4 separate regions of the Homo sapiens genome follow, and regions 1, 3 and 4 are each linked to region 2. The links are contacts of gene promoters, found by promoter capture Hi-C in blood cells and fetal thymus (Javierre and others, 2016). All regions are on one chromosome and are shown on one strand. The core of a region is centred on a gene start or on the middle of the fragment in contact, and the rest is flanking DNA. Distances in the headings are between cores, read along the strand shown.

Region 1 (3,156 bases), core at 594-3,093, 1.8 Mb after region 2:
GCTGTTGAAATCAAGCAGTATATGCCTGCCTGTAGAAGGCTGGCTGTCTGCTTGCCTCTCAAGAGGCCTCATGAGCTGGAATTCATTACCTAATTTTATCAACACACCAAAAAGAGATCTACCTCTTTGAGATGGACTACTTATTAACCAAACACCTGAGACAGATATATGAAAACATAATGTCAATTTGTTTTATTCACAATGAGCAGTCCATGTTGTGAGAACCGGAATCTTTGTGCTGGATCATATAATTTTCTCCCTCTGGGCAGAATTACTTCAGAGGACAAATTATAATTGCAAGGTTTCTTGGTGATTATGTGTTTTAGGATACTGTTTAAATCAGACGTAGTCCTAATCTGGGTTCTTTTAAAATAGCAATGAATGTGAAATTTCATGATACCAAGAAACCCAAAGATCAGTCAAAATGTAATTATGCTGCTCCTTCTTTCTCTATTCAAAATAATATCACCAAGTATCAATCAACAGTGAAATGGATAAATTGTTGCACATTGATATTTTAAATTATTATACACAGTGAAAATGAAAATGAATGAAAGCTATACGTAACACAAGACAAATATAAGACACAAAATGCTACATGCATTATGATTCTATTTACTTAAAAGAAAAACAGGAAAAGCTAAATATTTTTGTAATGCACACTTCAGTGTTAAAGTTTATACTATATATAAGGTGAGTAAAAAAGCAATCATTACAGAATTGGAGAGTATCTCTAGGAGGAAGGAGTGTATGGTAGATGCGTGTGTGCTGGTACTGGTTCTTTTCTCTTGTTTACTGGATGTGGCATGGATATCTGTTTATGTACTTTTTTGTAAGTATTAGGTTGAGCCATGAATAATTATTGATATTTTAGTGCTTTTGACACCATAGCAATTTTTGCTTGTGACAAAATAGCAATTTCATATGGGTTGACCTAATAAGTTACATTTCATTAATTAAAGTTGTATTACTTAACATAGTATCTATCTATATAGATGCTTGTATAGATGAATAGACATGGCTCAAGGGGCTTGAAGCAATGACCCCACAGTAGCAATCAGCGCATCTAACACAATGATCTTGGTCTCTACCAGATTTATTCAATAAAAGGAACAAGGGTGCCTTGGAGCAATGGCTGATTCCAGGATGGAAGCAGGAAATATACAAGATGAGCCTGGAGTATTTTGTAGTGCCAGAAATTAAGGCAGTACTCAAAAGCACACATACACACACACACACACACACACACACACACACACACACATATATACACAAAATGACGGAAGTAAGTCTAAGAGGCATAGGAGTCAACTGAAACAGCTTCCAAACGCCAAAGCTAAAATAATTTGAACAAAAACAACAAAAACAAAGTTGTATTGGATTTTAACATAGAATTAAAATAAATGTCCAGGATCTAAATGGATACAAATAATCAAATAAATGGGGGAGAAGAGACAAATATCCCATGCAGAAGAATTACAAATAATTTATGTAGATACTCCACTCTCAAGAAGGTGGAACATGACTGCCCACTCATTAAGCGCTGCATATTAACACTCCCTCAGCCAGGTGACCAAGTCATATCAACAGTGTTAAGTCATGTTTTTGGTTAGTATACCTTTGATATGTTGTGATGAGAATATACTTTCTCTCTGTAATCTTCCTCCTCCAAACTCATGAGCCCTATTTATGAGAAAAAGATCAGATAAATCTTAATTAATAGATAATCTACAAAATACCTGACCAGTACTAACCAAAACTGTCAAGATTATAAAAAATATGAAAAGCCTGAGAAACTATCACAGCTAAGAGGAGCCTGAGAACAGATTGTGACTGAATGGATTGCATTACTCCAAAAGAGTTCCTGGAACAGATAAAGGACATTAGGAAAAAAGACTAATGAAATCTGAATAAAGACTGGACCTTAGTTAATGATAATGTATCAATATTGATTTATTGCTTTTGACAAATGTACCACACTAATGTAGTGTTAATAACGAGAGAGTCTGCGTATTGGGTTTATGGGAACCCTCTGTGTTATCTCCTCAATTTTTATGTAGATCTAAAACAGTTTTCAAATAAAAAGTTTATTAAAATGAAACAATTCTTTTTTTTTTTTCAAATATTTAAACAAATTAGTATTTTTCGCTTTTGGGAGTAGTATGAAATGCATGCTACTCATAACTGGCCATATTTTTCAAAGAAGGAAGTGTTTGCATCTCAGCTGAAGTATTAGACTTTTGATTGGCTGTGGTAAACTCCAATTGAAACTCTATTATCATGCAATTGGCAGAACACTTGCTGTTCCTTGTAGGTAAAATGAAACGGTTCAGTTCAATTAAATCGTGGCTAAAAGGCTTGATAACATGGAACCTATTAGAGTAAATTATATTTATTCTGAGAGAAAGACTGACTGGCTGAGTGGGCTTGTCTGTGATACTGCAGTTGGGAGAAATAGAGTTATTTCAGTGTCTCTTCAGTGGGTTGGTTGTATTGGGTAGAAGTAAACATTCTTACAGGCTCAAAGCCTCTGTAAAAGTATCCAGCCAGGGGGGCCAATGCCAGTTTTTCTTACTTGCAGATGGTGTTTTGCATCCTGATGTGTTGAAATATGCCACAAGTTTTAAAATTTATACTAATTGATATTCTAGCTTCTCAAACTACTGCTAGAAGGTTGGGAGGTGATGTCTCAGCCAGGTGGCCAGAGTTTACCATATTCGATGTGACTATGTGGACTGAAACATTCCTAGATATATTTGTATCTGTGAAGGACATACAGTGAGGCTGAAGATGCTTACATTCAGAAAACGGATATGGCAGAGGGTAAATATACAAGTAGTAAGCCCCACAATGTGTGGATTAATGTGGTACACAATTCTTACACACAGAAATAGTCCATCTTCACTCTACACTGGGTCCTACAACTGAGTCCTGTGCTTGCTTCAAGGCAACGCTGTTTTAAAAGGACCACAGCCACAATGACCTGTGTTAAAAGAAAGCACAGGGAGAGGTGGGAGAACCGAGAACCAAAATAGCACACAAGGAAACGTAGGTGTGTTTAGATTGAGGGGAAGCTATGGTTTCTATTCTCAAGTTTTTAAGAGTTGTCATGAGGAAGAAGGCATAAACATTTTATATTGTCCCAGATACATCAAA
Region 2 (3,021 bases), core at 1-2,500:
TTTTAACATCTTTTTCTGATAACCCAGATCAGTTTTCATAAAACCCCTGAAGGTAGAAACCAGCTTACATTAAGCGACATCATTGTACTCCCTACTTGTGCATAATAATCAACTTTTTAAAAAATTTTAATCTTCAGCATTAAAAGTATCCTACCCACCAATTCAGGAACCTCGAACTCGGACTGGAGCCACTTCGCTCTCTGGATGTAAAAACCTCAGACGATCACCTCTTTTTTTCTCTCCCTACTGTTCAAACACCTAAATTATGGTTTAGTGTGTTGCACATGTCCTCAAAAATACTTTCTAGTAGCTCACCTCCTCCACATCCTTTTAAACTAGAAAAGTGTCCAACTGGCAATCCTCAAATCATAAAGGCAGCAAAAACGCCCCTGAGCGCTGTCACAAATTTTTAACAAGTGCATTGACGCCAACCAGCAAGGGATCCAGCTCCGCCGCCAAGGCCAGCACCCCCGCGCGGGTCTGGCGCAGCTCGGGGCCGGGCCCAGCTCAGCCCTTCAGCCCCCGGCGCGCCTCGCCGGCCTCGGCCTCCCCTCTCCACAGCGGTCCCGGGGACCTTCCGCCCCTCTAGGGGGTGTGGCCGAGGCGGCGGCGGTGAGCGGAAGGCGGCGGGAGGCTCGGCGGCGAGTGCGGGGCGGAGGCGCCACCTTAACCCGAGAGTTGGGAGGGGAGGGCGAGGGGCGTGCGCGTGGAAGAAGCTGCCCCGAGGCTGCTTTTAGCGGCGGAGCCGGCGGGACGCGGCAGGTTGGCAGCGCCCGGGGCGCATCCGGGGGGCGAGAGCGGAGGAGCGGCTGAGCGTCCCGGGACAGTCGGGGTGGGCTGCGCTGCGCTGGGGGCGCCGCGGCGGGGGGCGCACTCACCTATGCACAGCTGGATGGCGTAGGCGTAGTAGGACCAGCCGAGCAGGAGGGTGATGAACACCACCGGGATCCAGTACAGCACCCGCCGGCACCGCCGCCTGGCGCTGCTGCCCGGGCCCGAGGGCGCCATCTTCCAGCCGCATCCACCTGCCCAGCTCCGCCGCCGCCCGCGGGCCTGGCTCCGGGGCGGGCTGGGCGGGCCCGGCACCCCTGGCTGGACGGGCTCCTGGGCGGCGGCGGGGTGCGCTGCGGCCACTGCCGCCGCCGTGGCGCTAACTCCCCATCCCGCAGCCCCGAGCCGGCGCGGCGGACTCCCGGCTCCTCAGCCCGGCGGAGGCGGAGGCGGCGGCTGCGAGCGGAGGCCGAGGAGGCGGAGGGGGGCGGTGAGGCGGCGGCGTCGGGAGGCTGCGCTCCGCCCCCGCCGTTCCCCGCCGCCCGGCCGCCTCCCCTGGCGTGGCAGGCTGCGCCCTCGGGCGGGCTCTGCGGGGATGCGGGGCCCTCGCTCGGGCCACCTCGCGGGCTCCCACCGTGGCCCCGCCGCCTCCGGCTCGGCCTCTGGATTCCGGGGAGGCGGGGGCTGCTGGGCGCAGGCCCCCGGGGCGGAGCGGGCGGTGGCGGCCCCTCCCTAGGCGCCCGGCACCCGGGGCAGTTAGGTCGCGAGCGCTTCCGCGCTTGGCGCAGGGCGGGGGTCGGAGGCGAGGCCGGCGGAGCAGCTGCTGCGCTCGGGACTCCGCGCCTGCCGCGACCCAGGCGCCCTGAGAAAGTCTGCAGCACCGAGGCCCGCGTCCCCGCAGCCCGCGTGGAACCCTCGCGCTTCAACTTGCGGGTCCCTGGGAGCCCGCGGGGGCCGCAAGGAGCCTCCCTTTACTACTCGGGCTTTCGGGGGAAGCAGAAATGCACAGCGAAGAGGGGGTGCCGAGCCGGCGTCTGGCATGGGAGGGGCTGTGGAGAGCGAGGAAGAAGCATTTTTGGCTGTGAATCCAGGCACCTCTGGAGTTAGAAACACAAGTTCTTTGCTCTGAGAATGTTGATGCTTTGGATAAATGATTGTGACAGGGGCCGTTCCCACTGTCCCCTCCCTCAAGTACGGTGGTTCCTTCCACCAACTATTTATTCTTTTCCTCAACCCGCTCCTCACTACGGTGTTTACTTTCGTGGTGGCAATTCCAAACTTAGCAGATAGCTGACTCCAAAGCGGTTCCCAAAAAACACCGTAAGGGAACCTAAAGGTAGTCAGCCCAAACCTCTGATTTTATGATTCACGAAATGGAAAATAAACAAATGCCTCCTTTGCTTTTCCTTCATCTGATTATGAACGCACCTGATCCACAGGGAAACATTTCAATCAATGAGTGTGTGTAAATTATGTGCATCACTACTATACATAATAGGCACAATTTTTCTTAACATTAGTGAATATGTGTATTTACACCACACAGCAACCACAGTGAATGAAATTACTTCTTATTCATGTGTAGAAGTAAAAAAAAAATACTGATTTACATGAATTCAGTCAAAGAAATTTAGCTCTGGTGTCTGCGATTATCTTTCTGTGACTGGATTACACAACAAGCTAATCTCTCCCGAAATAGCTACTATGTTACAGCCCCCCACCCCACATCTCTTTCCATTTCTCTTCAAAAATGCATAGAAAATGTCAGTCAAGTTTCTGTGGGACTTTAAATAATTGAAAAGAGAGACATATTATGTCCCAGTGAATCACTTGATTTTGCTGTAGCCTTTTATATTCTCTGTGGATATTCTGTATATTAATGTAAAAATAAAACTTCTCTGGATTCCTTAATGTTTTCCATGAATATTAATCCTGTGTTCCCCCCCAATCAGAAGAGAGTAAAAAACAGGAATTAAAACTTCCTCCTGGGACTGAAATACCCTCACAAAGAGAAGCAAATCAGTGACTGAAGGTCAATAGAGACCATCAAGGTATGAAAAGGAAGGAATCGGATTTTCCATACTGGAAACGGTGGAGAAAGTGCAAATAGTGCCTCTGTAGATCCTGGATGCGACGATGCCCTGTGCTCTTCCTCCTCTCACAGTCCTACAGGGTCTTGAAATCGGAAATGGAATAGCATTCTGCCCAGTTTTCACATCATCTACCCTTTTGGAAAAGTATGCAGGTGTC
Region 3 (3,109 bases), core at 146-2,645, 1.0 Mb after region 2:
GTGAACCACTGCACCTGGTTTGACTTAGCTGTTGTTTCCACTCCCTGCGTAGAGTTCAGTACCAAACAACTAAAGAATAATTATGAGAATTTTAAAATAATAAAGCAAAATGAGCTGAGAGAAAAAAATAGAACCAACATTATTTGTTCTGAAGAAAATGATTTGAAAAGTAAGTTTTATGATCTACTTCACTGGATATTGTATTTTAAGAGACAGGCTTACATTATTCACTGATTGGGGATTAGACATGGCAAACGAGGTTTTTATGGAAAGCTATTTAAAACATTCCTGATTTTTTCACTCCTCCACCTTAAATTCACAGTTTCACTCAAGAGGAAAAGAAAAAGCAATTTTAAATACAGAGTAGAGACAAGAAAAGAAACTTAGAAAAATGAGTGGATGAGTAAAGAACTAAAAGAGAAACATGCATTGTTTTAATTATTTATCCTTCTCTTAGGAAAGTGAGAAGAATCAGGTTCATATCATATTGTACATCATTACCAAAATTGAAACAAAAAGAAAACAATTTTTTTTTCGAGATGGAGTTTCGCTCTTGTTGCCCAGGCTGGAGTGCAGTGGCACAATCTCGGCTCACCGCAACCTCTGCCTCCCAGGTTCAAGCGATTCTCCTACCTCAGCCTCCCAAGTAGCTGGGATTACAGGCATGCACCACCACACCCAACTAATTTTTTGTATATTTAGTAGAGACGGGGTTTCTCCATGGTGGTCAGGCTGGTCTCGAACTCCTGACCGCACGAGATCCACCCACCTCAGCCTCCCAAAGTGCTGGGATTACAGGCATGAGCCACTGTGCCCAGCCAGAAAACAATTTAAATGAACCCTCTTTTTATAATGCACCATTATAGAAAGAATATAATTTTTGGACAGTCTCCACATATTTTTTTCTGGTTTTAAATAGCAAACCTGGCTTAGCAGATAGAATCCTTAGTTTTAAGAACAATTAGTTTTGCAGCTGCAGGTAAAATGACTTATAGGAATAAAGTTTCAAGCATGCTCCTTTAAATAGGTTCTCTCATTTGGATGCACCTTTTTTTCTGACTAGACAAAACAAGTTTAATTAAGGAAGCACTGAGGGGCATCTACTGTTTATCAATGCACAGGGCAGGGAAAGGAGAGTGAGTCACTTTTTGCCCCGTATCCAGGCTTTCCCAGCTATTGTGCCTGTGGTCTCCCTGCAGCAAACTTGGATGAGTTTTATCATACAACAGTGGTACCTCCAAGAATTTGTTCCAGGTATATCTGAGCCTGTATGGATGCTGATGAGGGAAGTAAGATCTGGAGTAACTATTGCTTCTTCTCCTGAGTTTATAGTGCTGAAACTCCAAACCTGAAAAGAGAAACAAAAGTAATATATAAACATAAATGCCATTTAAAAGTTATTCTTAGCTGTCTTTTCTTTGCTTTTTTATTACCACTTTTACATACCATAATCAATTTTCTATGTGAAATTTTCAAAAAAAAAATGTAAGGGTAAACAGAAGGCAATCAAAAAATGCACCTCTATACCTCTGAACTATCCCTTAATGAATGGGAGTAAATATAATCTCAAAGATAAATAAATATATCAAAGGGTCACAAGTCAAATTTTTACATACTGCTCCTTGCATGTTGAATGTTTTAAAATGTAAACATTTGAATGTTAAATATTATGGAAAGTAGTATAGGGCTGGTCCATACAGCTGGGTAATCACAGAAAAATAGCATATTTTTTTCATAGAGAAAATAAGTAGGGCTAGCAGAGGTCATCAAAGTTGTACAAATTTACGTAGTCATTATGGTGGTTGGGGGTGGTTGGGGGTGGGTGGGAGTGGGAAGAAGGGTCAAGATTCATGCCTTAACCTTTCTCTCATACCATGCTTTCTCCACCAGATGGAACATCCTTCCAAGTCCTTTATACTTAAGATCTTCATTTCTAAAGAGCTTGCTTCTTCAGAATCTTAGTATCATGAAATATTAAAGGTAGACAAAGTCTTAAAGCTATGTTAGCCTTACTCCTTTATTCTGCATATCATAAAATTGAGGAAAAATGAGTGGTTTCTCTATAAGCACAAAACTACAATCCAAACTATAGGCTATATTGACCCATTCTTCTCTACTTTGATTCCCAAGGTGTTTTCAACTTTAATTTACATTGTTTTTCTCAATGGAGACACTGTTCACAAAACACTTCCCAACTAGGCTTAAAAGTCATACAAATTTATGTCACTCAGTCATGACTAGAAATAATGAAAATACACATTCAGGCACTTTTAACTATTAATGATATTTGCTCTCCCATTTATCTATTCAGCAGCTGATCTCAAATCTCATCATTTTATAATATATCTGGATGATGTATGAAACTGATTACCTTTTATTTTTCATGGAAATGCTGGTAAGATTAAAGATACCCAAATCCCCCAAAGAAATATCAGTATCTTTCATTTTTTAAAAAGAGGTGAAGAGGAGGTCAGGCACAGTGGCTCACCCCTGTAATCGCAGCACTTTGGGAGGCTGAGGTGGGTGGATCACAAGGTGAAGAGATCGAGACCATTCTGGCCAACATGGTGAAACCCCGTCTCTACTAAAAATACAAAAATTAACTGGGCGTGGTGGTGCACACCTGTAATCCCACCTACTCAGGAGGCTGAGGCAGGAGAATCATTTGAACCCAGGAAGCGGAAGTGCAGTGAGCCGAGATCACGCCATTGCACTCCAGCCTGGGCGATAGAGGGAGTGAGTCTCTGTCTCAAAAAAAAAAAAAAAAAAAAACTTAAAAAAAATATATAATCAATATCAATCCCTACAACCCTCAAATTATAAAGGAAATCATAGATATATATATGGCTAGGTATATAGGTGGAAAGATGAGAGAGAGAGAAAGAGAGGAAGAGGATTAGAGATTAAAAACATATCTAAGAAACACACGTAATTTTTGTATAGCTTTCCACCGAATAGAAAGAATAGTTCAGAGGCACAAAAAAAATAATAACAGTGACAGCCCCAACAACGAAGATCCTTGAATAACAGTTATTATCTAAAGAAATAAAAACAAATTTGTTTTTTATCTCATTGGTTTACACAAGGATAAAATTTTATGAATTTTATA
Region 4 (2,868 bases), core at 29-2,528, 1.0 Mb after region 2:
CACTGGAGTCTATTAAGTGTTCTTTAATTTTTAAAATACTTTATTGCTAAAAAATGCTAACAATCATTTGAACCTTCCGGAAGTTGTTATCTTTTTCTGGTGGAGGGTCTTGCCTCCGTGTTGATGGCTGCTTACTAATCAGCGTGATGGTTGCTGAAGATTGAGGTGGCTGTGGCAATTTCTTAAGACAACAATGAAATATGCCACGTTGATGGAGTCTTCTCCTCATGAGAGATTTCTCTGCTGCATGCAATGGATGCTATTTGATAGCATTGACCCACTTTAGAACTTCTTTCAAAATTAAAATCAGTCTTCTCATACTCTGCTGCTGCTTTGTCAACTAAATCTATATGATACTCTAAATCCTTTGTTGTCGTCTCAACAATGTTCACAGCATCTTCCCTTCAGGAGTAGGTTGTATCTCAAAAAAACCCTTTCTTTGCTCATCCATAAGAAGCAACCCCTAATCCATTCAAGTTTTATCGATTGCAGCAATTCAGCCACATCCTCAGGCTCCACTTCTAATTCTAGTTCTCCACTTCTCTTATTATTTATACCACATCTGTAGTGACTTTCTCCATTAAAGTCTTGAACCCCTCACAGTCATTCATGAGGGTTGGAATCAACTTCTTCCAAATTTCAGTTAACCTCAATACTTTGACCTTCTCCCATGAATTATAAATTATTTTAATGCCATATAGGATTGTGAAACCTTTCCAAAAAGTTTTCAATTTACTTTGCTCAGACACATCAGAGGAATCACTCTCTGTGTCAGTTACAGCCTTACAAGATGTATTTCTTAAGTAATAAGACTTGAAAGTAAAAATTAATCCTGGATCCATGGGCTACACAATGGATATTGTGTTAGCAGGCATGAAAACAACACCAGTCTTTCTGTCCATCTCCATCAGAGCTCTTGGGTGACCAGGTGCACTCTCAATGAGCAGTAATATTTTAAAAGGATTTTTTTTCTCAGCAATAAGTCTCAACAGTAAGATTAAAATATTCAGTAAACCATGCTGTCAACAGACGTGCTGTCACCCAGGCCTCATTGTCCTATTTCTAGAGCACAGGGAGAGGACATTTAGCATAACTCATAAGGGCCCTAGAATTTTCAGAATAGCAAATGAGCATTTCCTTCAACTTAAAGTCACTGGCTGCATTAGCCCCTAACAAGGGAATTAGCCTATACTTCAAAGCTTTGAAGTCAAGCATGAACTCCTCTCTAAGTATGAAAGTTATAGATGGCATCTTTTTCAACAGAAGCTGTTTCATCTACATTGAAAATCTGTTGTGTAGTGTAGTAACCTTCATCAATTATCCTAACTAGATCTTCTGGACAATTTTCTGAAGCTTCTATATCCACACTTGCTAAATCATCTTGTACTTTTATGTTATGGAGATGGCTTCTTTCCTTAAACCTTATGAACCAACCTCTGCTAGCTTCCAACTTTTCTCCTGCAGTTTCCTCACCTTTCTCAGCCTCCATAGAATTGAAGAGAGGTAGAGCCTTGCTCTGGACTTGGATTTGTCTTAAGTGAGTGTCATGGTTATTTTGATCATATATGAAGGCCACTAACTAAAACTTTATATCGGCAATAAGGTGGTTTGTTTTCTTATTATTTTTGTGTTCACTGGAGTGGCACTTTTAATTGCTTTCAAGAACTTTTTCTCACATTTACAACTTAGGTAAATTTCATACTTTCAGCCTGTCTTGACTTTCAACCCGCCTTTCTCACTAAGGTTTATCATGTGTAGCTTTTGATTTAAATGAGAGATGTGCCACTCTTCCTTTCAATGGAACACTTAGAGGCCGTTGTTAAGGTTACTAATTTGTTTAATTTCAATATTGCTGTGTCTCAGGGAATAGGGATGCCTGAGGAGAGGAAGAGAGACAGAAGGGGGAACAGCCAGTTGGTGGAGCAGTCAGAATACACACAACATATATCAACTAAGTTTGCCATCTTTTACGGGCATGGTTTGTGGTTCCCCAAACTAATCACAGTAGTAATCTCAAAGGTCACTGATTGCCATAACAAATGCAAGGGGTCTTCAAAAAATCATGGAAAATATGTATTAGGAAAACACTATACATGGATTTCAAAAATTCTGCACTAAAACAAGCTAGCTTATTATAACATGTCTGAATAGAATCTAATTTGATGCACTAAGAACAATAAGGTATCTATTTAAAAAGAGCCCCTATCAGAGCCACATAAATATTGCTAAAATGGAACCAAGAACACACATGAAATTTATGATGAAACTTGTTTGGAAGAATGGTGAAATCACCGATACTTTATGAAAAGTTTATAGGCACAATGTCCCAAAGGAATCAGCAGTTGACAAAAAGAGAACTCAGTTTTACAAAGGGATAAGAAAATATTGAAGATGAACCCTGCAGCAGCTGACTATCCACGTCAATTTGTGAGGAAAAAAATACATCTTGTTTGTGCCTTAATTGAAAAGAACTGAGACAGCAGAACAACAGCCAACACCACAGACATCTCAACTGGTTTGGCTTGCACAACTGTGACTTAGAAATTAAGGTTGAGTAAAGTTTTTTCTAGATGGGTGCCAAAACTATTGTGTCCAGATCAGCTGCAGACAACAGCAGAGCTTTCAGTGGAAATCTTAAATAAGTGGGGTCAATATCCTGAGGCATTTATTTGAAGAATTATAGGAGAAGATAAAACATGGATTTCCCAGTATAATCCTGAAGACAATGCATAATCAAAGCAATGGCTACCAAGAGGTAGAAGTGTTACAGTCAAAGCAAAAGCAGACCAGTCAAGAACAAAGGTTCTCACAACAGTTTTTGAGGATGCTCAAGTGATTTTTCTTGTTGACTTCCTGGAGGGCCAAAGA

What was found. The method cuts DNA at HindIII sites, captures the fragments that hold promoters and counts their contacts. A CHiCAGO score of 5 or more calls a contact.
Region 1: a fragment that was not itself captured here is called in contact with the fragment with the promoter of ZDHHC2 in region 2 in 5 of 17 cell types (total B cells, naive B cells, total CD4 T cells and 2 more); the score reaches 10.3 in total B cells.
Region 3: a contact is called between a fragment that was not itself captured here and the fragment with the promoter of ZDHHC2 in region 2, in 2 of 17 cell types (M0 macrophages and M1 macrophages). The highest score is 6.3, in M0 macrophages.
Region 4: a fragment that was not itself captured here is called in contact with the fragment with the promoter of ZDHHC2 in region 2 in 1 of 17 cell types (M0 macrophages); the score reaches 5.7 in M0 macrophages.

Annotation. Positions count from the first base shown.
Region 1 is chr8:15,374,404-15,377,559 of GRCh38, reverse strand. No RefSeq gene overlaps it. Among named protein-coding and RNA genes, the nearest start is that of SGCZ, 140 kb to the right of the region's middle. The HindIII fragment of the contact is 7,465 bases long and covers 1-3,156 here.
Region 2 is chr8:17,154,711-17,157,731 of GRCh38, reverse strand. ZDHHC2 (zDHHC palmitoyltransferase 2) reads right to left here and starts at 1,250. Exons shown (of 13, transcript NM_016353.5): 1 at 879-1,250. The coding sequence starts at 1,008. RefSeq lists a silencer at 432-1,791. The HindIII fragment of the contact is 4,757 bases long and covers 1-3,021 here.
Region 3 is chr8:16,112,607-16,115,715 of GRCh38, reverse strand. The region is part of intron 9 of MSR1 (macrophage scavenger receptor 1); the gene reads left to right. Among named protein-coding and RNA genes, the nearest start is that of MSR1, 78 kb to the left of the region's middle. The HindIII fragment of the contact is 3,802 bases long and covers 1-3,109 here.
Region 4 is chr8:16,133,564-16,136,431 of GRCh38, reverse strand. The region is part of intron 8 of MSR1 (macrophage scavenger receptor 1); the gene reads left to right. Among named protein-coding and RNA genes, the nearest start is that of MSR1, 58 kb to the left of the region's middle. The HindIII fragment of the contact is 154 bases long and covers 1,202-1,355 here.